Linked DNA regions of Homo sapiens: all the other regions are linked to region 6. The links are contacts of gene promoters, found by promoter capture Hi-C in blood cells and fetal thymus (Javierre and others, 2016). All regions are on one chromosome and are shown on one strand. The core of a region is centred on a gene start or on the middle of the fragment in contact, and the rest is flanking DNA. Distances in the headings are between cores, read along the strand shown. Region 1 overlaps CFAP206 (cilia and flagella associated protein 206). Region 2 overlaps RARS2 (arginyl-tRNA synthetase 2, mitochondrial). Region 3 overlaps SLC35A1 (solute carrier family 35 member A1). Region 4 overlaps RARS2 (arginyl-tRNA synthetase 2, mitochondrial). Region 5 overlaps RARS2 (arginyl-tRNA synthetase 2, mitochondrial). Region 6 holds the start of SNX14 (sorting nexin 14). Region 7 overlaps CFAP206 (cilia and flagella associated protein 206).

Region 1 (2,743 bases), core at 212-2,711, 1.8 Mb before region 6:
CCTTCTTAGCTGAAACACAGTATGAAATTTTTTAAGTATAAAAATAGGTAGTATACATTACCTCGATTCGTATAATTCATATCGAAGTAGACTTGCATCTTAATAGTGTCCAGGGATGGATTTTTAGTATCCAATAGCCGAGTCATACAAAGCTAGAAAAGAATGTCCCATGAATACTTCTAGTTATAGTTTTTGAGACAGTCAAGTATTTCCTAAAGTTATTTTCAAAAATAAAGGGAAAAGCAGTGGTTCCTGATATTGATTCACCAATAACCCCTTTTATTTTTTTTTTCTCCTTGAGGACTTCAGGCTTTATAGTTTATTTAACCAATAACTTTTTTTATTTTTATAGATTTAGGGGGTACAAGTGTCATTTTGTTACATGGATATATTGCGTGTAGTGGTGAAGCCTGGGCTTTTAGGGTAGCTAACACCTGAATAGTGGACATTGTACCCATTAAGTGATTTCTTATCCCTCGCTCCCCTCTCACCCTCCCAAGTCTTCAATGTCTACTGTTCCACTCTCTATGTCCCTGGGTACATATTATTGAGCTCCCACTTATAAGTGAGAACATGTGGTATTTTACTTTCTGAGTTATTTCACTTAAGATAGTAGCCTCCAGTTCCATCCATGTTGCCACAAGACATGATTTCATTATTTTTTATGGCTCAATAAAACTCCATTGTGTGTATGTGTGTATACATTTTCTTTATCCAATCATCTGTTGATGGACACTTAGGTTGATTCCATATCTTTACTACCAATAACATTTGTTAAGTAATAAGTTATTTCCCTTGAGTTAACCAATAATCATCATGCCAGGTGGCTAGTAGTCTAGTTGAAGGCAAGAAACCTGATGTTTTGGTTAGTTTGAGCAGTCTAAATGTGGGTAAATGTTCCACAAAGCTTATATTCCAGTCTAAAACTCTTCTAGAGTTCCTCATTACTATTTATTTGTGCCTTGAACAACACTCCTCATTTTATTTTATAAAAAGCTGCTGCAGCTGGTGCAGTGGCTCACACCCGTAATCCCAGCATTTTGGGAGGCAGAGGTGGGCAGATCACCCGATGTCAGGAGTTCGAGACCAGCCTGGTCAACATGGTGAAACCCGTCTCTACTAAAAATACAACAATTAGCCAGGCATGGTGGCACACACCTGTAGTCCCAGCTACTCGGGAGGCTGAGACAGGAGAATCGCTTGAGAACCCGGGAGGTGGACATGGCAATGAGCCAAGATCATGCCACCGCACCCCAGCTTGGGGGACAGAGCGAGACTCTGTCTCAAAAAATAAAATATAATTAAATTAAATTAAATTAAAATTAAAAAGCTGCTGCAACCACCCCCCTCTCTTCACAAAATTTCTCTGGTTCTACCCTTGATATTTCTTCTCCTGGTCTGTTTTCTCCTATGAGCCCCCACATAGATGGCTCATTCCCCTTCTCTGCCTTGCCTCTTTATATTGAATATCAACCTCAGTTTTTCTTTCCTTCTCTCATCTCTACTGGTCACCTCCCTCCCCCACTTCCTTCACTGCTCACTCTGTAGGCTGAATATACTGCAGCTGGCAGGCACTTGGCAGCATCACTCTCAACCCATCTCCCTGAGCACCAGCCCTGCTTTCCTGGGAGGAGGGAGGGGAGAATGCAAGACTGAGGATTGGACACTATGTCTTTGCAGAAGCCTGTGCACCTGGATCCCTCCACATACAGAAGTACTGTTCTAAAATGCACACTTAAAAAAATAGCTCATCCACATGATTTTTAGTTGAGAAAAAAATTGTCACTTGAATATAACATATGTTGTTAGTTTATGTACCTGTCGTACTAAAAGTATATTGGCTTGATTCTTTCCAACTTAGTTGAGTTGGGGAATTGGGGGGAATGGAAAACTCTTCTTGGGTCATGACAAGGAGAACAACTTATTTTCTGCCCCTCCTGGATTCTCTTCCACGGCTTTCCAATAAAATTTCTGACTGCCACAATCACTTCCCCTATTGCTAAGAACAAGCTTTATACCATCTTTTCTCTGCATCCTCACCAATATCTGTTATGTTTTTACTTTTTAAAGATATTCTAACTGGTGTAAGATTGTATCTCATTGTCAGAATAGAAAATCCAGACACAAAGCCACATACCTGCAGTCAGGTGATCTTTGACAAAGTCAACAGAAACATACACTGGAGAAATGACATCCTATTCAATAAATGGTGCTGGGAAAATTGGATTACCATATGCAGAAGAATGAAACCCATCCCAATGTCTCACCATATACAAAAATTAACAACTCAAGATTGATTAAAGACTTAAATGTAAGACCTGAAACTATAAAAATAACAGAAAAAAACCTAGGGGGCTGGGCATTGGCCTACGCAAAGAATTCATGACTTAAAAGTAAATGCAACAGAAATAGACAAATTGGATTTAAATAAACTAAAAAGCTTCTACACATCAAAATGAATAATCAACAGAGTGAAAAGACAGCCTGCAGAATGGGAGAAAATATGTACAAACTATGCATCTGACAAAGGACTAATATTCAGGATCTACGAGGAACTCAAACAACTCGACAACAACAAATAACCCCATTATAAAGTGGGCAAAGGCCATGAATAGATATTTTTCAAAAGAAGACATACAAATCGCCAAAAAGCATGAAAAAAATGCTCAACATCACTCAGCATTAGAGAAATGCAAATTAATTTAGTTCTATTTAACTTCACAGTATATGACGAACTAGTTAA
Region 2 (2,700 bases), core at 79-2,578, 1.9 Mb before region 6:
TAAATATTTCAGGGGAATCTGTCTTCAAACTCCACAGAAACCTAAGAATATATTTCTTTCTATGCAGTTTAATATAATTTCCTGCCTTTAGAGACTCAAAAATAGTGGAAGATCAACATCTATGTTAGAGGTTATTTACTGATGGGTACACATATGGAAGGAATAAGGGCAATAAGGTACTTCTGTGAATAACTAAAAAGTCGAATAATAATGGTGTTGCTTTCATTAGTGTTCTTTTGCCGAATAGATTCACTGGGAAACTGCATTTAAAGACAAAAGAAGGCAAGATACACCCACTTTGCTATTTGTAATAGACGACAAGACCATTAGAGTATTCAGTTGCTCTTTTCCTTCTCCTTTTGCAGGACAGAAAATATGCAAAGCCTAAAATGGCAGCCTACAGGTTATTATATATGCAAATTTTATAGACTCTGTTTTCATTTTAAAATTACATTTGTCACTTTGGATTACTTTCAAAAACAACTGTTAGCATAAATGAGGAATTTTTTTGAGCTTTAAGCAAATGTTGATGTTATTCTGTTTCTAAAAGAAAATCTGAATGTCAACAACTCAATTTATTTAATAATTGAAAGATGCCTTTGCTTGCCCTGCAATGTCACAAATAGCGTAGGTGGTAATACAGAGACTCTGCCCCATCGTTATTTCTGGTCACCAGAAAGGTGACCAGAAAGTCAGAGATCGTGATTCTATGCTTGGAAAGTGCTTGGTGTATTGGTAAATAATGTTGGCTGATTTATTCGAAGGAAAACTTTAAGATAATCTGCATTTACTCTTTCTTATTTGTGAAAATCTGTTTTCTCAAAGCTTTGATGGAACCCTTGTTTTTTTTCCATATCAAGTTGTAGTTAGTAGTGAGCTCTTTGAGAGGAAGGACCATGTCTTCCTTACCTTCCTTATCCACAACCCTAAATATTATGGCTTGCAGTAAATGCCTGAATGAATTTGCTTTTATAGTTCTCTTTTGCCCCCTTTTCTAATTATATATAATTTGTGGAATATAAAATGTATTGTTTGTCCAGGAAATAAGTAACTATTATAGGATACACTAATTACCATTTGTCAGAATTTAACTTACTTTGTTAACATAGTTTACTGCAGAGGAAACCACAGGCCAAACCCAGGATTCCGGCACAGGTAGTCTGGCTCCTGAGTGCTCTATGCAGTGAATGTCCCCACACCCCCACTATAGAATGGCTTTATGAACCATTGATTTCCATTGGTTTAATTATGTACATAGAATTTTCCTTTCTTTCATCCCTTGAGTTGCTATACCAGGGACACAATTAGTAGTTTAGTTTTGGCACTTTCAACCTTCTGGCATATTTGTTTTGAATTTGGCATAGGCCATCCAGTAGCAGATTTTATGGCCTGCCTTCCTCTAAATTGAACTATGATCAGTATTCTCTAAATTGCACTATAATCAGTATTAGTATATTCAGTTTCTCAGCTAGCTTGGAAATGATATTGTATGATAGTTTCAGAATTTCTTTGATGAAAATATTTAACACCCACAGTCATTTATTGCATTTCCATTTTGGTGCATATGCTTCACTAGTGGTTTTTCTCTGTACCTTATAGCATTCTTTTCCCATGACATCTAGCTGTTTTGTACGTGGGACCTAGGATTTTGTTGGCAAGCATTTGAAACTTTTTCTTTAATTATTCTAATTTGGTTTTTTTGGTTACAAAACAGGGAAGTAGTTTTGTTATAGTTCCTCTTCCCTTGTGAATTGGCTGTTAAATAACTAATATATTTTTTTTATTTAGAATTCACATTAGTGATTCAGGAAAACATTTGCAATAAGCTTTAGACAATATATCAAAAAGCCTTTCCACTTATATTGAAAAGTAATTTCTTTTTTTTTCTTTCTTTTTTTTTTTTTCGTGATGGGGTCTTGCCCTGTTGCCCAGGCTGGAGTGCAGTGGCGTGATCTCAGCTCACTGCAACCTCTGCCTCCCGGGTTCAAATGATTCTCCTGCCTCAGCCTCCTGAGTAGCTGGGATTACAGGTGTGCACTACCACGCCCAGCTAATTTTTTTGTATTTTTGCTAGAGACGGGGTTTCACCATGTTGGCCAGGCTGGTCTCAAACTCCTGACCTTGTGATCCGCCCACCTTGGCCTCACAAAATGCTGGGATTACAGGTGTGAGCCACCACGCCCAGGCAAAAAGTAATTTCTTATGGTAAAAGTTAACAAGTGTTAAATCTGAATCATGGATATGAGGGTGTCATCATTTACTTTTACCTATTTAAATAATACTTTTAAAGGTAACTTATCAGGCTTCCTTTTAGATTTAAATTATTTGAATAGACTTTATTATCTAACAGTATCTCTAAGCATATTAACCTTTTTTTTTGCTATAGAAGGTTTTATTAATAGAACTTGACTCATTGCATATTGCCTATTAATATGGCTTTTGTAACCATAGCCATTCTTATGAAATGTAAGGGCAGCCTCTTATAAGAGATAAATATCATGCCAATAAAATATGGATTAGCCTGTATCCTAGCACTGACATTAAAAAAGGTTACATAGGCCAGGTGCAGTGGCTCACACCTGCAATCCTAGCACTTTGGGAGGCTGAGGCAGGTGGATTGCCTGAGCTCAAAAGTTTGAGACCAGCCTCAGCAACGTGGCAAAACTGCATCTCTACTTAAAAAAAAAAATACAAATAATT
Region 3 (2,806 bases), core at 53-2,552, 1.9 Mb before region 6:
GATGTCTCAAGACATTAAAAACTTTAAATTATACCTACCCAAAATCAAACTGTTGATATCTTTTTCCCCCAAATCTGTTTTTCCTGTTTCAAAAAACAAAAATAATAATAACTCTACCCAATTGTTTATACTAGGAAACACAGATATGCTTCCTGATACCTCCCTTTCCTTCCCCTACTATAGTTGATTATTATTATTCATGGACTGTACGTGTGAATTCTCCACTCATTAAAATGTATCTGTAACCCCCAAATCAATGCTGGTAACACTTGCAGTCATTGGCAGACATGTGCAGAGTGGCAAAAAATTTGATTCACCAAGTGTGCACATTCCTGGCTGACGCTGAACAAGTTAACATTCTGCCTTGTTTCCGCTTTCAGATCATAAACAAGTGCAATCTATTCAGTACCACATTTTTTGCATTTTTGTGCTTTGTGTTGGTGATTTTGTTTAAATGGCTCCCAAGCATTGTAGGGCTGACGCACTGTCTGATGTTCCTAAGTATAAGAAGGATATGCTATATATTATGGAGAAAATACATGTGATAGATAAGCTTTGTTCAGGCATGTTATAGTGCTGTTGGCCATGAGTTCAATGCTAATTAATCAATAATGTACATTAAATAAAGTGTCTTTAGATTGAAGCACACACAAAACAAGGTTATTGTATTGATTAATTGACAAAAATGTGATCAGTTGCTCACAGGAAACTACCCTGTATATCCCCTAGGAGCAGGTTATCCAAACCCATCACGAAGTCCTACAGATTCTACTGCCAGAGCATAACTCAAATCCATTAACTTCTCTTCGTGACCTGTGCTGTCATCCTAGCTGATTATCTCTTGCCTCTATTGTTTCCCTACTTCTAATTCATTCTCAAAGAGGTCAAAGTGACTCTCAACATGGGTTCTATGTTAGTCCCTCACTTAAACCATTTAATGACTTTCTTTTTCTTTTTTTTCTTTTGAGACGGAGTCTTGCTCTGTCACCCAGGCTGGAGTGCAGTGGTGTGATCTCAGCTCACTACAACCTCTGCCTCCCAAGTTCAAGCAATTCTCCTGCCTCAGCCTCCCAAGTAGCTAGAATACAGGCATGTGCCACCACGCCCAGCTAATTTTTGTATTTTTAGTAGAGATGGGGTTTTACCATGTTGGCCAGGCTGGTCTTGAACTCCTGACCTCAAGTGATCCACCTGCCTCAGCCTCCCAAAGTGCTGAGATTATAGGTGTGAGCCACCGCACCTGGCTCCACTCAATGATTTTTCTAATGCACTTCAGATTAAATCTAAAATCCTTAACAGGTCCATACTACTACTGTGATACCCTGATGACCTCTCCTGCTTCATCTCAGCACCAAAGTCAAGGACTTTTCTGCCTCAGGGATTTCAAACACGCAGTTCTCTGCCTCCTCTCTGCTCTTTTCTTGCCTAAAGTCTACTCAATTGACAGGTCTAGGTTTAAACGTAACTTCCTCAGAGAGGAAACCCTTTAATCCAAATGCAGGCCCTCTATCATGCATGTTTGTAGCACCCTCTACTTTTCCCTCATAACATCACCTATTTATTATTTATTATAATATTTGGTTCTCCAACAGACTATAAGTCCATGAGGGCAGAACTACACCTTTTTAATTTGCAGTGTTCTAGTGAAAACACTAGAATAGTGTTGAGTATATAATTGAGGTTTGATAGGTATTTTCTAACTAAATAAATGAATGCGTGAACCTGACTGTCCCATTATATCTTATTAACAATACCTTGAAACAACTTAGAATGACTATTTGCTTCCAATGTTTGGAAGGAATGAAACACAGATTTGAATATGGCAGTGGTATGTTATTATCTAAGTGAACCTTAATTATAACCAAAACATGGTTTCAGGTGCTACTTCGATAAGTTTCTGCCCCCACCTCCCACTCCCGTATAATATATGTACTTTAACAATTAGCCAAGACTATTCACTAAGCAAAGAACATTACTGAGCAAACAGCATCAGAGACCATACTAAATAAACAAACCACCAAATGGACTGCTCTATAATGAGATTAAGCTTTGCACAGTTCCAAAAAAATTGAAGTTCTAGTATAATACTTTGTATCAACCCTATAAAGTTATTGTACTTTATCACAGTGTAAAGAATGGGCAAAAAGGAAGAAGCTTTTACTTCATTTAATCATAGTTTTAAATGAAGTTTAATTTTTTTCCATTTAAATAGTAATTTCTTTTCCTTTCCCTGTATTCATTCTCCAGAAAACTCAAATCAACATTGAGCAAATGTTACTAATTTTTACACTAACTCTGCAGTATTTTTCTGGAAATATGGGGGAAATACACTATTTTAATCATCAGGATCTAAGTTCTTCTAATTTTTTTTTTTCTTTTTCTGAGACAGAGTTTTGCTCTGTTGCCCAGGCTAGAGTACAGTGGTACAATCATGGCTCACTGCAGGTCCTCGCAGGCTCAAGCAATCCTCCCACCTTAGCCTCCCAGGTAGCTGTGACTACAGCCACACACCACTACACCCAGCTAATTTTTTTATTTTTTGTAGAGATGGAGTCTCACCATGTTGACAGGCTGGTCTCCAACTCCTGGGCTCAAGAAATCCTCCTACCTTGGCCTCTAAACTGCTGGGATTACAGGTGTGAGCCACCACACCTGGCCAAGATCTAAGTTCTTCTTAATTTTTCTCCTCTGAAGAGAAAGTTCAAGTTCTAAACCTTTAGTTATTTCTAATATAATTCTTCCACAGCCTCCCATAATATCCTGAAATTGTCATCCTTTCTGTGAGATGATAAAGTCTTCCTTGATT
Region 4 (2,700 bases), core at 1-2,500, 1.9 Mb before region 6:
CCTCGGCCTCCCAAAGTGCTGGGATTACAGGCGTGAGCCACTGCGCCCTGCGAAATCATAATCTTAAGAATTGCCCACCTCTTAGTAGTAGAATAGGGCCAAGATCTAAAGCTTGAGTTTTGAATTCCAGTTTCAACTTCACAATTTTGAATACATCCTTTAATGGTTCTGGGCTTTATTAAGTTGAAGGAGTAAGATTAGATATCAAGCTCATATCTTACAACAGGAAATTACTGCTGGTACTATCGTGATTTCTCTCTTCCTGTTTCAGTCATCTTGCAGCTGTGGCACACAAAACACTACAAATAAAAGATAGTCCTCCTGAAGTGGCTGGGGTACGTTATGTTGAATGTTTTCTGTATAATCCCTAGCTCCTGAGACTAATATTACTAAGTCAGTCTTGTAAATTTTTCTAAAATAGCATTCTGTTGTTCAACTGTAGCAGTATACTTCCTTAGCTAATAATTAGGCTGTAACAATCAATGTGTATATACTTCCCAACATACTAGACTATAAAGCACATTTTCCTACATGAAATATTACAGTGATAAGTTCCCCTTATCTGAAGCCATACTGTATAATACTATCACTCCCACTCCATGACACTTTATGTACAGGTTTTACTGTAAGGGATGCCAGGAATTTATCTTCTCTTGCCTATAGTAACTCTAGGGCACTTTGACATATTGTTCCTGCTTTAAACTAGAAAGAATAACCTTTAAAACCATTCTCATGTATTGAATACATTCCTGTTACTGAATATTTTAAATCATTCTTTGATTTATTTTGTAGGCCAGACTTCATCTTTTCAAAGCTGTCCGTTCTGTCCTAGCCAATGGAATGAAACTTCTTGGAATAACACCTGTATGTAGGATGTAATTTCCATTAAAATGGCTTTTAAAATGTCAAGTGAATTCTAGTTATCTATTCTGAGATGCCTTGCTGTTCAGAATAAATTTAAATTTTTTTTTTTTTTTTTTGAGATGGAGTTTCGCTCTTGTTGCCCAGGCTGGAGTGCAATGGTGTGATGTTGGCTCACTGCAACCTCCACCTCCCAGGTTCAAGCAATTCTCCTGCCTCAGCCTCCTGAGTAGCTGGGATTACAGGCACGTGCCATCACGCCAGGCTAATTTTGTATTTTTAGTAGAGACAGGGTTTCTCTATGTTGGTCAGGCTGGTCTTGCACTCCCGACCTCAGGTTATCTGTCTGCCTTGGCCTCCCAAAGTGTTGGGATTAGAGGCATGAACCACCACGCCCAGCCAAAGTTAAACTATTATTCTGTGTCAGAATCTGTATTAAATGTGACTTGTCAAGTTATTCAGTCTTTATCCTTAAATAAATGAGTTATCTGAATTCTCTCATGGTCAGTAGGTATTTAAATAGACATTGAGTTTTTTAAACCCAAAGCATTGTGGTCTAATGGGGCTAAAGGATTTGAGTTTAAACTTTGGCTTGAAGTTTCTTACCATGTCATTCTTCCAGAAACTATTCTTATAACTGAAATGATTTAATGTTTTCATGAAATAAAAGAATTGGTGAGGGGAAAATATTATCAATTTTCTTGTAATTGTGGCTAGTTTGGAGTAAACATAGGGAGATCAAAAATAAGCACCGTTCTGTCAATATAGCTGACAGCTACTCCTAGAGACAATAGACCTCGTGCTTCCCTTTGAGTTAATATATACAGGGCTGGGCGTGGTGGCTCATGCCTATAATCCCAGCACTTTGGGAGGCTGCGGCGGGCAAATCACGAGATCAGTAGATCGAGACCATCCTGGCTAACACGGTGAAACCCCGTATCTACTAAAAATACAAAAAAAGTAGCCAGGCGTGGTGGCGGGGCCTGTAGTCCCAGTTACTCGGGAGGCTAAGGCAGGAGAATGGCGTGAACCCAGGAGGCGGAACTTGCAGTGAGCCGAGATCGCACCACTGCACTCCAGCCTGAGCGACAGGGCGAGATTCTGTCTCAAAAAAAATAAATAAAAAATATATATATATATATATATATATATACACACACACACACAGGTAACTCTTATTGTGTGAATTCAGGAACTAAATACATTTTAATAGGAAGGAATTACTTGTAAAGACGTTGAATTAGGATCTTTTTGTAAAATGTAGTCCATTAATTCAACCATAATTTGAAATGGAGTTTCTTATGGTTTCCTTCATGTATCTATCTTCATATTTTTGTGTGGCTTCATTAGATAACATGAGCATGGCTTAGGAAACAAGAGTAGGATGTGATGTGTTTGATCAGTACGGCCATTCCCATCAGCCAGCATTTCCATTCAGGTCTGCTATAATTTATTCTAAATGTTGCTAATAGTAGGCTTTTGAATACCAGTGACGGTCTATTTACCAAGTTAGCACAACTGAAGCTTCTCTAGTTAGAGTGAAAATTGTTTCATATTAGCAACTATGGCTTACCTTCTTAGTCCTAGAAAAGATTCAGCCTTGCAGTTCCAATTTAAGTGAATTAGCTCCCAGATAGCTAATTTTCGACTTAAAGTAGTGTCACATTTTTCTTAGCATAAACCAGCCATGGGATAAAAATATAAAGTAGGGACATGTTTTACACATCCAATATCCCTCTCTACTTGTTTGAAGAAACTTTCCCCTTCCAAGATCAGTAGTGTCTTCCCGAGTATTTGAATCGTGAGTGAAACCATACAGGAACAGTAATAGGTAAAGCC
Region 5 (2,700 bases), core at 122-2,621, 2.0 Mb before region 6:
AAAAACAAAACTTAGGTGTAGTGGCACACACCTGTGGTCCCAGCTGCTTGGGAAGCTGAGGTGGGAGGATCGTTTGGGCCCAGGTGGCTGAAACTAGCAAGCTTTGATTGCACCGCTGCACTTCAGCCTGGGGGACAAAGTGAGTCCCTGTCTCAAAAAAAAGAAAAAGATAAGTTGGAGAAACAAGAACTAATATATTGAGTATATATTTGTGCTAGTTACTACACATTCACATTTAAGCTCATGGCAACCCTGTGATATAGAAGTATTAACCTTATTATATAATTGAGTCAGTTGAGATCCACAGAGATTAAATAACTTACCCAAAGCCACATCATCAATACATTGTAGAGTTGGTTTATGAACAGAACTCTAACTTTAAAATTAGATCTTTCCTATATACTGTGCTCTTTGTGAAAGCAAGAAGCACAGTCCAATCATTGAACAGAATCTAATGGATTTATACAGCAGTGTAAATTATGCAGATATATATGTATTTCTCTGAATATAGAGTCATTGGGGAATGATCTGAAACTTGAGGATAAATAATAATATTTTCAATACGTTAGGACATGGGGAAAAAAGAGCAAAGAAAAAACATGTTCCGTACAGTTTGAGCATCCCTAAGCTGGAAATCTGAAATGCTCCAAAATTTGAAACTTTTTGAGTGCTGACATGAGACTCAATGTTCATTGAGTTCATTGGAGCTCAATTGGAAATTGGAAATGTTCATTGGAGAATTCCAGATTTTCAGATTAGGAGCTGGGTATGGTGGCTCATGCCTATAACCCCAGCACTTGGAGAGACTGAGACAGGCAGATCACTTGAGCCCAAGAGTTCAAGACCAGCCTGGGAAACTAATTAGAAAATTAGTTGGGCATGGTGGCACCCTCCTGTAATCCCAGATACTTGGGAGGCTGAGGTGGAAGGATCACTTGAACCTGAGAGGTGGAGGTTGCAATGAGCCAAGATTGTGCCACTGAACTCCAGCGTGGGTGGTAAAGCAAGACCCTGTCTCAAAAAATAAATAAATAAATAAATAAATAAATAAATAAATAAATAACCAACCCCACAGATTTTCAGTTTAGGGATGCTCAACAGGTAAGTATAAAGCCAATATTCCAAAATCTGAAAAAATTCAAAAGTTGAAACACTTGTGGTCCCAAGGATACCCAGCCTGTATTTAATACCTTTGCGAATGAGCATCGTTTTGCTATAATAGTTTAGGAATGAAGGAATGTGTAACGTGCAATGGCAAATGCATTTAGCTAACTTTGATTAATTAGTCGACAGTTTTCTAAGCACTGTCATCAGTCCCAAGGCTAAAAGTGAACGGAAAATAGTTTCTGCCCTGAAATGGCCTCAGACATGCTTGGAAAACGATGTAAACCGGTAATTGCATTGCAGCCTGTAATCACTGTATTAGAAGCATGTGCAAAGTGCCAAGGGAACTTGAAAGCTCCTAAGGGTCAGACAAAGTTTTGTAGAAAGGTGATGTTAGGTCTCAGTTTTGAAAGGGATATGGGTAGGAGTGTGCCAAGTAAATAGAGTGAGAGCTTGGGGAGAGGTCAGGTATTGCAAGAGGAGGATGTGCATAGACACAGACATCTGGAAAGCATGATATGTACATAGAATCACAATATTTGGATTCCTTTCTTCAGCAAGTCCTGTTGATTTTATCTTTATATCTTGAATCCATCTACACTATTGCTGCTGCCTCCCCCTCTCCTTTCTCTATTCCACACCAAGCCCCCATTATCACCTATATTGACTGCTTACAACAGCCTTCTGATGGGGTGTTTGTTTCCATTCTTGCCCTCCCTCCAGTTCATTCTCCATGTATCAAGAAAGGTGACATCTAAATTGTGAATCAAATCATATCACTTATCTTTCTTTGTTGCACGAGTCTCTACCAGAACCTTAACTTCTTCAACTTCCATTCATGCCCCATTCTATCATTTTTGTAGGAACCTAGCTACAATGTTAATTTGTTTTTCTAACATAGCAGGGTCTTTCCATTCCCATTGCGTAGATTATTCCTTGTGCCTAAAAGAAATGCATTTTATACTATCACTCTTTATGCACGATGAAAGTTTCATGAAACAATACTTATTTATACTGTATTCTGTCCTGTTTTATACGTATTTTTTAAGACTGGTGGTTGGGACTCAACAGAATTTATTTTTATTTTTATTTATTTATTTATTTATTTTGAGATGGAGTCTTGCTCAGTCGTCCGGGCTAGAGTGCAATGGCGTGATCTCTGCTCACTGCAAGCTCCGCCTCCTGGGTTCACGCCATTCTCCCACCTCAGCCTCCCGAGTAGCTGGGACTACAGGTGCCCGCCACCACACCCGGCTAAATTTTTTTGTATTTTTAGTAGAGACGGGGTTTCACCGTGTTAGCCAGGATGGTCTCGATCTCCTGACCTCATGATCCACCCATCTCAGCCTCCCAAAGTGCCGGGATTACAGGCGTGAGCCACCGCGCCAGGCAAAGGAATTTATTTCTAACTGGCAACCTATAATTTGAAAAGTGTGTCCTCTAGTTCTCTTAGTCCCTTGTTTGCTTCTATGATGACAATAATAAGAGTAATTGTTTTGTTTTACTTGTTTTAGTGTCTGTTTCCTCTATAAGCTTCATGAAGACAGAACATGTCTTATTCACTCTTATTTCCTCAGCACCAGCAAAGTGCCCGAA
Region 6 (2,700 bases), core at 23-2,522:
ATTAAAGTTGATTCTAAATAATTAGAAATGTGCATAGGTTTATCATCAAGGATGGTAATATCAATGGACTTTAGTGGTTAGCAATAATGGAACAGGATGGTACATTCTGATAAAGGATAATAATGCATCATTAAAGATCCATGTTTTTGTAATACGGGAAAATATTCATGAAACTACATACATCATTAAAAAACATTTGTTTCCCCACTTTGAAGGATAAGATCCTAGGAAAGAGAGATGACAGGCACAGGCTCTGTCTTTAGAACGTGTTCAAATTCCGGCTTTGTTAGTTTTATGATCCTAAGTTCCTTTCTGTCTCAGTAATTTGCCTGTATAATGATTGAAACTATAGTACTGTACCTACACCATGGGGTGAATGCATGAAGGTCAAATGAAAGTGCTTAGTGTCTGTACCGCCTAAGTAAATTTTCGCGATAATAGTCTTCCTGCATCTCTCACTGTAGCGGACAATACAGAAAAAAAAATTTAGAAATGTGATGAATTAGTAAAGGGAAAACCCCATGAGACTCTATAAGAGGGATTTTACCTAATCTGCCAACCTGCCTCTTCCAAGCACTCGGATTTTGGTTGGGCTCCCGGAGCCGGCGTGAATTGAGCTCTACCCTTGCCCGTGAGCGCGCAAAAGAGATTTTGTTGGTGGGGTGGCGGCCTGATGAGTTGTAGTCTTTATTCTAGGGCTGTTTTACTCGCCACCCCCCCAGCCCCCAACACACCCCTTTTAAAATACCGACTCAAAGGCGTCCTCCTATCCCCCTCTCCCTTAGGCGTCACGCAAAGCTCGGACCTGCTCCCACCCGGAGCCGAGTGTACGGTGAGGCGCGGAGCGTTGCGGGGTCGGGGAAGCGCTACCACCCGCTCCATCCCTCTGCGGGTTCGTGTCACGAAGACTACAGTTCCCAGCGGGCTCCACGAGCTCCGGTTGCCCCTCAGGCAGCGCCCGGCGGCTACGGGGGTGCTGTAGTTTCTTCCGGGCTCCCTACAACCTTCTTCCCTCTCCTCCGCAATACAGGCAGTTACTGGGTGCTGGGGCTGTCCTTTGATTTCCGGAAATGGCCGGTCGCCAGTGTTGTCAGAGTTTCCACGGAAGACTGCGCGCTACTCCGGCCAGGAGGGCGGAGCGGCGAGACGCTAGAGGCTTTGCGCTGGGTGACGACTTCGGGCACGTTCTACGGCCGTTCCTCTGGTCGGCTGGGGACCGCGGCCGCGCACGCGCGGCGGGGGGCGTGGGGCTGGGCCCAGCCGGACGCGACCTCAGCCTGCGGCGGCTAACTGCCGGTAGGCGTCTGTGTGCGCCGCCAAGTCGGTGGGGCGGGGACGCGAGGTGTGGATGGGGGGTCGCCTTGACCTCTGCCTCAGCCAGTAGCGCAGTCTCGGCCTCGCCGTTACGGAGATGGTGCCCTGGGTGCGGACGATGGGGCAGAAGCTGAAGCAGCGGCTGCGACTGGACGTGGGACGCGAGATCTGCCGCCAGTACCCGCTGTTCTGCTTCCTGCTGCTCTGTCTCAGCGCCGCCTCCCTGCTTCTTAACAGGTAACGCCGCAGCGCGGAGCCTGGGCGGCGGCTTTTCTCCGAAGGTGCAGACGCCCGGCCCGTGCTGCTTAACCGTGCGGAGGCCGCGTAGCTGCGGGACTGGGGACCAGTGGGGAGAGCGAGCTCCGCAGAGGAGCGGCCTCGGGGAGCACGGCGGAGCGTCGAGGCCGGAAGCACAGGCCGGTGGGGTGGGGTTGATTGCCTCCTTTCCCGAGGCTTCGTCTCCTGAGCTACCTTTTTCTCATCCATTTCTCAAAACGAGTTCTTCATCTTCGTTGCTTTTCAAAAGTGAAATCCGTGTGTCGGCTCAAATTGAGACTGTACACAGGCAGTCAAGTCAGCTGACGGAGGAGTGTTCAAGGTCCAGTTCGTAGCCGCAATTTTAGGCAGAATCCGCACACCTGCAGCGCGTTCTTCCATCTCCCCACCTCCCACCCCCTCAGCTTGCAGCTGAAGCTTTTCCCGCAGTATTGTTGAATAAAACAGACGATCATAAAGATTTGTTGGACAGAAATCAGAAAGCAAAGTGGTACCCGTCCCAACATCCTTAGAATTTTTTATTTTTGAGACGGAGTCTCGCTCTGTCACCCAGGCTGGAGTGCAGTGGTGCGGTCTCGGCTCACCGCAAGCTCCTCCTCCCGGGTTCACGCCATTCTCCTGCCTCAGCCTCCCGAGTAGCTGGGGCTACAGGCGCCCGCCACCACGCCACCACGCTACCACGCTAATTTTTTTGTATTTTTTTTTTTTTTTTTTAGTAGAGACGGGGTTTCACCGTTTTAGCCAGGATGGTCTCGATCTCCTGACCTCGTGAGCCGCCTGCCTCGGCCTCCCGAAGTGCTGGGATTACAGGCGTGAGCCACCGCACCCGGCCACATCCCTATAATATTCTTAAGAGGACTTGATGCCACCCTCCCCAAAAAAACCTGAAATATTCCGAAAGGTTAAAATTGATAAATTCAATTGACATTTTGAAATCAGAAGATTCTGCCCCCGAAATAAACTTGTTTTACTTCATTTTACTATTTCAAGAAATTGTTGCGATGCAATAGGTAGTAGAGGAGACTTTTCCATTAAAATTAACACCAGATTTGCTTTTGGTGGAAAGAAATCTGAGATAGTTCTCATTGACAGCATCCGCAAGCTGTTTTC
Region 7 (2,705 bases), core at 11-2,510, 1.9 Mb before region 6:
AAAAATTAGTCAGGTGTGGTAACACACGCCTGTGGTCCCAGCTACTCAGGAGGCTAAGGTAGGATTGCTTTAGCCCAGGAGGTCGAGGCTGCAGTGAGCTGTGATTGTACCACTACATTCCAGCCTAGGTGACAGAGCAAAACCCTGTCTCAAAAAAAAAAAAAAAAAAAAAAGAAAGAAAAAAACATCATGTGGACCTTTGCTCCAATTGTTCCAAATTAGTAAGGTTTTGTTACATATCAGTTTAATCCATGTTAACATTTAATAGCTAACAGAGCTGAAAATATTGATTAGGTTTTAAGTTTGTAACGTTTAACATTAAATATGGTTTAGAAATAGACTTCTATTCCAGTAATAATCTTATATTTATATCTAAATGTTATCATAATTTCAATCTTAATGCTGACAAATTTTTCTAACAAATAAAAGATAAATGGACAGTTTTATTTTTCAATTTCAACAGAATGAAAAATGTGTTACAGAAAACAGTTTGATAAAATATGGGAACCCAATAAACAGTCACACAACCAATGAATGTGCCACCCCTACAAAATTAATTTGTATAGATGTTAATATACCTTTAAGTACTTGCTATTGTTCATAATTGAGTAGCATCTATTTTAAAACGTTGTCTGTAATTAGGTTTCATCCACATCTCTAGTTAAGTTCACCTTGACCTCATCGGTGATTTCGCTCTTTCCTCCACGAAGACCAGCCAAGTAAATCTGAGGCCTGGGCACCCCAGTGCTGTCTTCCCTCATGGACTGGGTGCTAGTGTCCTTTGGAGGGTACACTTGGGAACAATTTTCTCTTCTCAAGTGACTAAGATCAGTTTGTACTGAGTGAGTAACTTTCTGGCGCAAATTAGCCTAAAGAGAAAGAGAATACAGGAATTAACATTTCTCTAAAGAACAAATAACATAAAATATTATCAGATACCAGTTAATATCTGCCTATTTTTGTCTTCAATCCACAAGAAATTAATTCCATAACATAGCATTTTTTCTATAAAACATTGGAAAATCTAGAACATAATAGAAAATTAAATATCCCTTACCAAGACGTAGAAAAATATGTAAAATGTTGAAAATTGACCTCAAAAAACATACAGATTCAAAATTACAGTGAACTCAACCAGTTATTTATTAATATAATCTAATTCCTTCATTATTATACTTTGAGATTCATATAACTTGGATTTTTCCACTATACTTGTTTTCTTTTAACAAAAATATAAGATTTATACAGTATTATCTTTTAAAAATGGACTTCACCCTAGATTTTTAACATAAAAGAGTCTGATGCTTTCCATTTTGTATTTTACAGTATTCTACATTTTGCTTACTCCCTTTATAGATTATTAGTAAACATGAGGTTAAACAGATTACTCAGGCTGGGAAGCAAGGAGGAGCTTATAAAAAGAAGAATAAGGTTGCTGCACTTATAGTAAAAGCCAAGAAAAAACTCAAAAGGCATTATAGCATGTGAGTGAAGAAGGTGACACCTGGAATTAGAGGAAACATTTCAGAGTTTGAGATACTGCAGGTGACTGAGAACCGAAACTACTCCCCAATACCCAGGTTATTGTCCACATTAATATGACTTTACTATTCCATTGTCTTCATTAGCATGATTTTACCATTCCAAGAGACTCTTGCCTAAGCAAATAACTTGATTGCTCATTTCAGTAGTACCTGAGAGATGTGTCAACTCTTCAGTAGTAAGCATCAAAACACAGTTTCAGTCCTAAGAGTCTGCATCCCTTGCCTCAAAAAATCTTCTTGCTATTCCCACCAATGCTGGACTGCTTTTTCATGATCCTTACCCAATCCGATTCAAACCTCCATCCTACCCCCAGTCCACCTCAGTCATTGGAAGACCTGCCTTAGCAAACTTCAAATTCTCAATCAATTCTGACTTTGCAGTTCCTCTTCTGAGACACTGCCAAAGCACTGTTGAGGTGGTGTTTTCCCTTATGGCTGTAAGCAATAAACTCAGCTTTGTCTTATCCACAGGTTAGGTAGGTGACACTTGGGGAGCTGGCATTCAATATAATACAGTTCTAGGGAATAATAAGGCCCAAGGTGAGAGTCAGAATTAAGTGGAGATTGAGGAATGGGAAGAGAGGGCTCAGTCAGTATGAAGTTCAGACCCCTGAATACCCCATTCTCTTAACATTTCCAGTCCATACCTATGCTGTCACCTCTATCTCTCCTATCCTATCCAGCCATCACTTCCCTCCTCCTCTTTGCCTATTTGTATCTCAAAAGCAACATAAAATATCACCTATGTTAATTTAGTAGAATTTTCATTTCACTTCTGTTACACCACTTACAAGGAGGTACCACTTACAAGGAGGTACTGAAATATTTTTAATGTAACAGTATCACTTGCTAGAACAAAGTAGTGGGATATATATGTTACCCAATAAATCTAATGAACTCAAGTGAGTTTAGTAGATAATAGAAAATAATATGGGGGTTGGGCATTTCATGAACTACAGGAGAGTAACTGATAGGAAGGAATACTAATGGAACAATGATCTGGAAGATATATGGGGAAACTGATCCTTCCTCATGCCAGGGAACTGAAAAGCTGCCACCAGAGTGAGTAGCAAAGGAAATAATGTGGTCAGTGGGACTGAATATACAAATGGACTGAATATACAAATGGACAAAGGCTAGACCATATATGACAATAGAACT

Evidence for each region. Contacts are between HindIII fragments. The CHiCAGO score rates a contact against its expected background, and 5 or more counts as called.
Region 1: a fragment that was not itself captured here is called in contact with the fragment with the promoter of SNX14 in region 6 in 5 of 17 cell types (total B cells, naive CD8 T cells, total CD8 T cells and 2 more); the score reaches 7.7 in total B cells.
Region 2: a contact is called between a fragment that was not itself captured here and the fragment with the promoter of SNX14 in region 6, in 2 of 17 cell types (activated CD4 T cells and monocytes). The highest score is 8.9, in activated CD4 T cells.
Region 3: a fragment that was not itself captured here is called in contact with the fragment with the promoter of SNX14 in region 6 in 6 of 17 cell types (non-activated CD4 T cells, activated CD4 T cells, M2 macrophages and 3 more); the score reaches 12.1 in non-activated CD4 T cells.
Region 4: a contact is called between a fragment that was not itself captured here and the fragment with the promoter of SNX14 in region 6, in 2 of 17 cell types (naive CD8 T cells and M0 macrophages). The highest score is 5.6, in naive CD8 T cells.
Region 5: a fragment that was not itself captured here is called in contact with the fragment with the promoter of SNX14 in region 6 in 3 of 17 cell types (naive CD8 T cells, activated CD4 T cells and naive CD4 T cells); the score reaches 7.9 in naive CD8 T cells.
Region 7: a contact is called between a fragment that was not itself captured here and the fragment with the promoter of SNX14 in region 6, in 1 of 17 cell types (monocytes). The highest score is 5.5, in monocytes.

The regions. Positions count from the first base shown.
Region 1 is chr6:87,411,219-87,413,961 of GRCh38, reverse strand. It overlaps CFAP206 (cilia and flagella associated protein 206), which reads right to left. Exons shown (of 13, transcript NM_001031743.3): 4 at 62-152. Among named protein-coding and RNA genes, the nearest start is that of CFAP206, 4.6 kb to the right of the region's middle. The HindIII fragment of the contact is 1,103 bases long and covers 910-2,012 here.
Region 2 is chr6:87,535,842-87,538,541 of GRCh38, reverse strand. All of the region lies in intron 8 of RARS2 (arginyl-tRNA synthetase 2, mitochondrial), which reads left to right. Among named protein-coding and RNA genes, the nearest start is that of RARS2, 53 kb to the left of the region's middle. The HindIII fragment of the contact is 1,001 bases long and covers 828-1,828 here.
Region 3 is chr6:87,485,335-87,488,140 of GRCh38, reverse strand. All of the region lies in intron 2 of SLC35A1 (solute carrier family 35 member A1), which reads right to left. Among named protein-coding and RNA genes, the nearest start is that of SLC35A1, 14 kb to the right of the region's middle. The HindIII fragment of the contact is 1,494 bases long and covers 556-2,049 here.
Region 4 is chr6:87,512,592-87,515,291 of GRCh38, reverse strand. It overlaps RARS2 (arginyl-tRNA synthetase 2, mitochondrial), which reads left to right. Exons shown (of 20, transcript NM_020320.5): 19 at 272-335; 20 at 793-1,354. The coding sequence ends at 879. Among named protein-coding and RNA genes, the nearest start is that of SLC35A1, 41 kb to the right of the region's middle. The HindIII fragment of the contact is 2,274 bases long and covers 114-2,387 here.
Region 5 is chr6:87,585,245-87,587,944 of GRCh38, reverse strand. All of the region lies in intron 1 of RARS2 (arginyl-tRNA synthetase 2, mitochondrial), which reads left to right. Among named protein-coding and RNA genes, the nearest start is that of RARS2, 3.4 kb to the left of the region's middle. The HindIII fragment of the contact is 2,536 bases long and covers 104-2,639 here.
Region 6 is chr6:85,592,430-85,595,129 of GRCh38, reverse strand. It overlaps SNX14 (sorting nexin 14), which reads left to right and starts at 1,272. Exons shown (of 29, transcript NM_153816.6): 1 at 1,272-1,551. The coding sequence starts at 1,412. RefSeq lists enhancers at 980-1,099, 1,410-1,579, 1,028-1,611, 1,612-2,195, 2,196-2,700 and a silencer at 1,130-1,349. The HindIII fragment of the contact is 2,215 bases long and covers 1-2,009 here.
Region 7 is chr6:87,462,184-87,464,888 of GRCh38, reverse strand. It overlaps CFAP206 (cilia and flagella associated protein 206), which reads right to left. Exons shown (of 13, transcript NM_001031743.3): 13 at 424-869. The coding sequence ends at 639. Among named protein-coding and RNA genes, the nearest start is that of SLC35A1, 9.4 kb to the left of the region's middle. The HindIII fragment of the contact is 3,443 bases long and covers 1-2,705 here.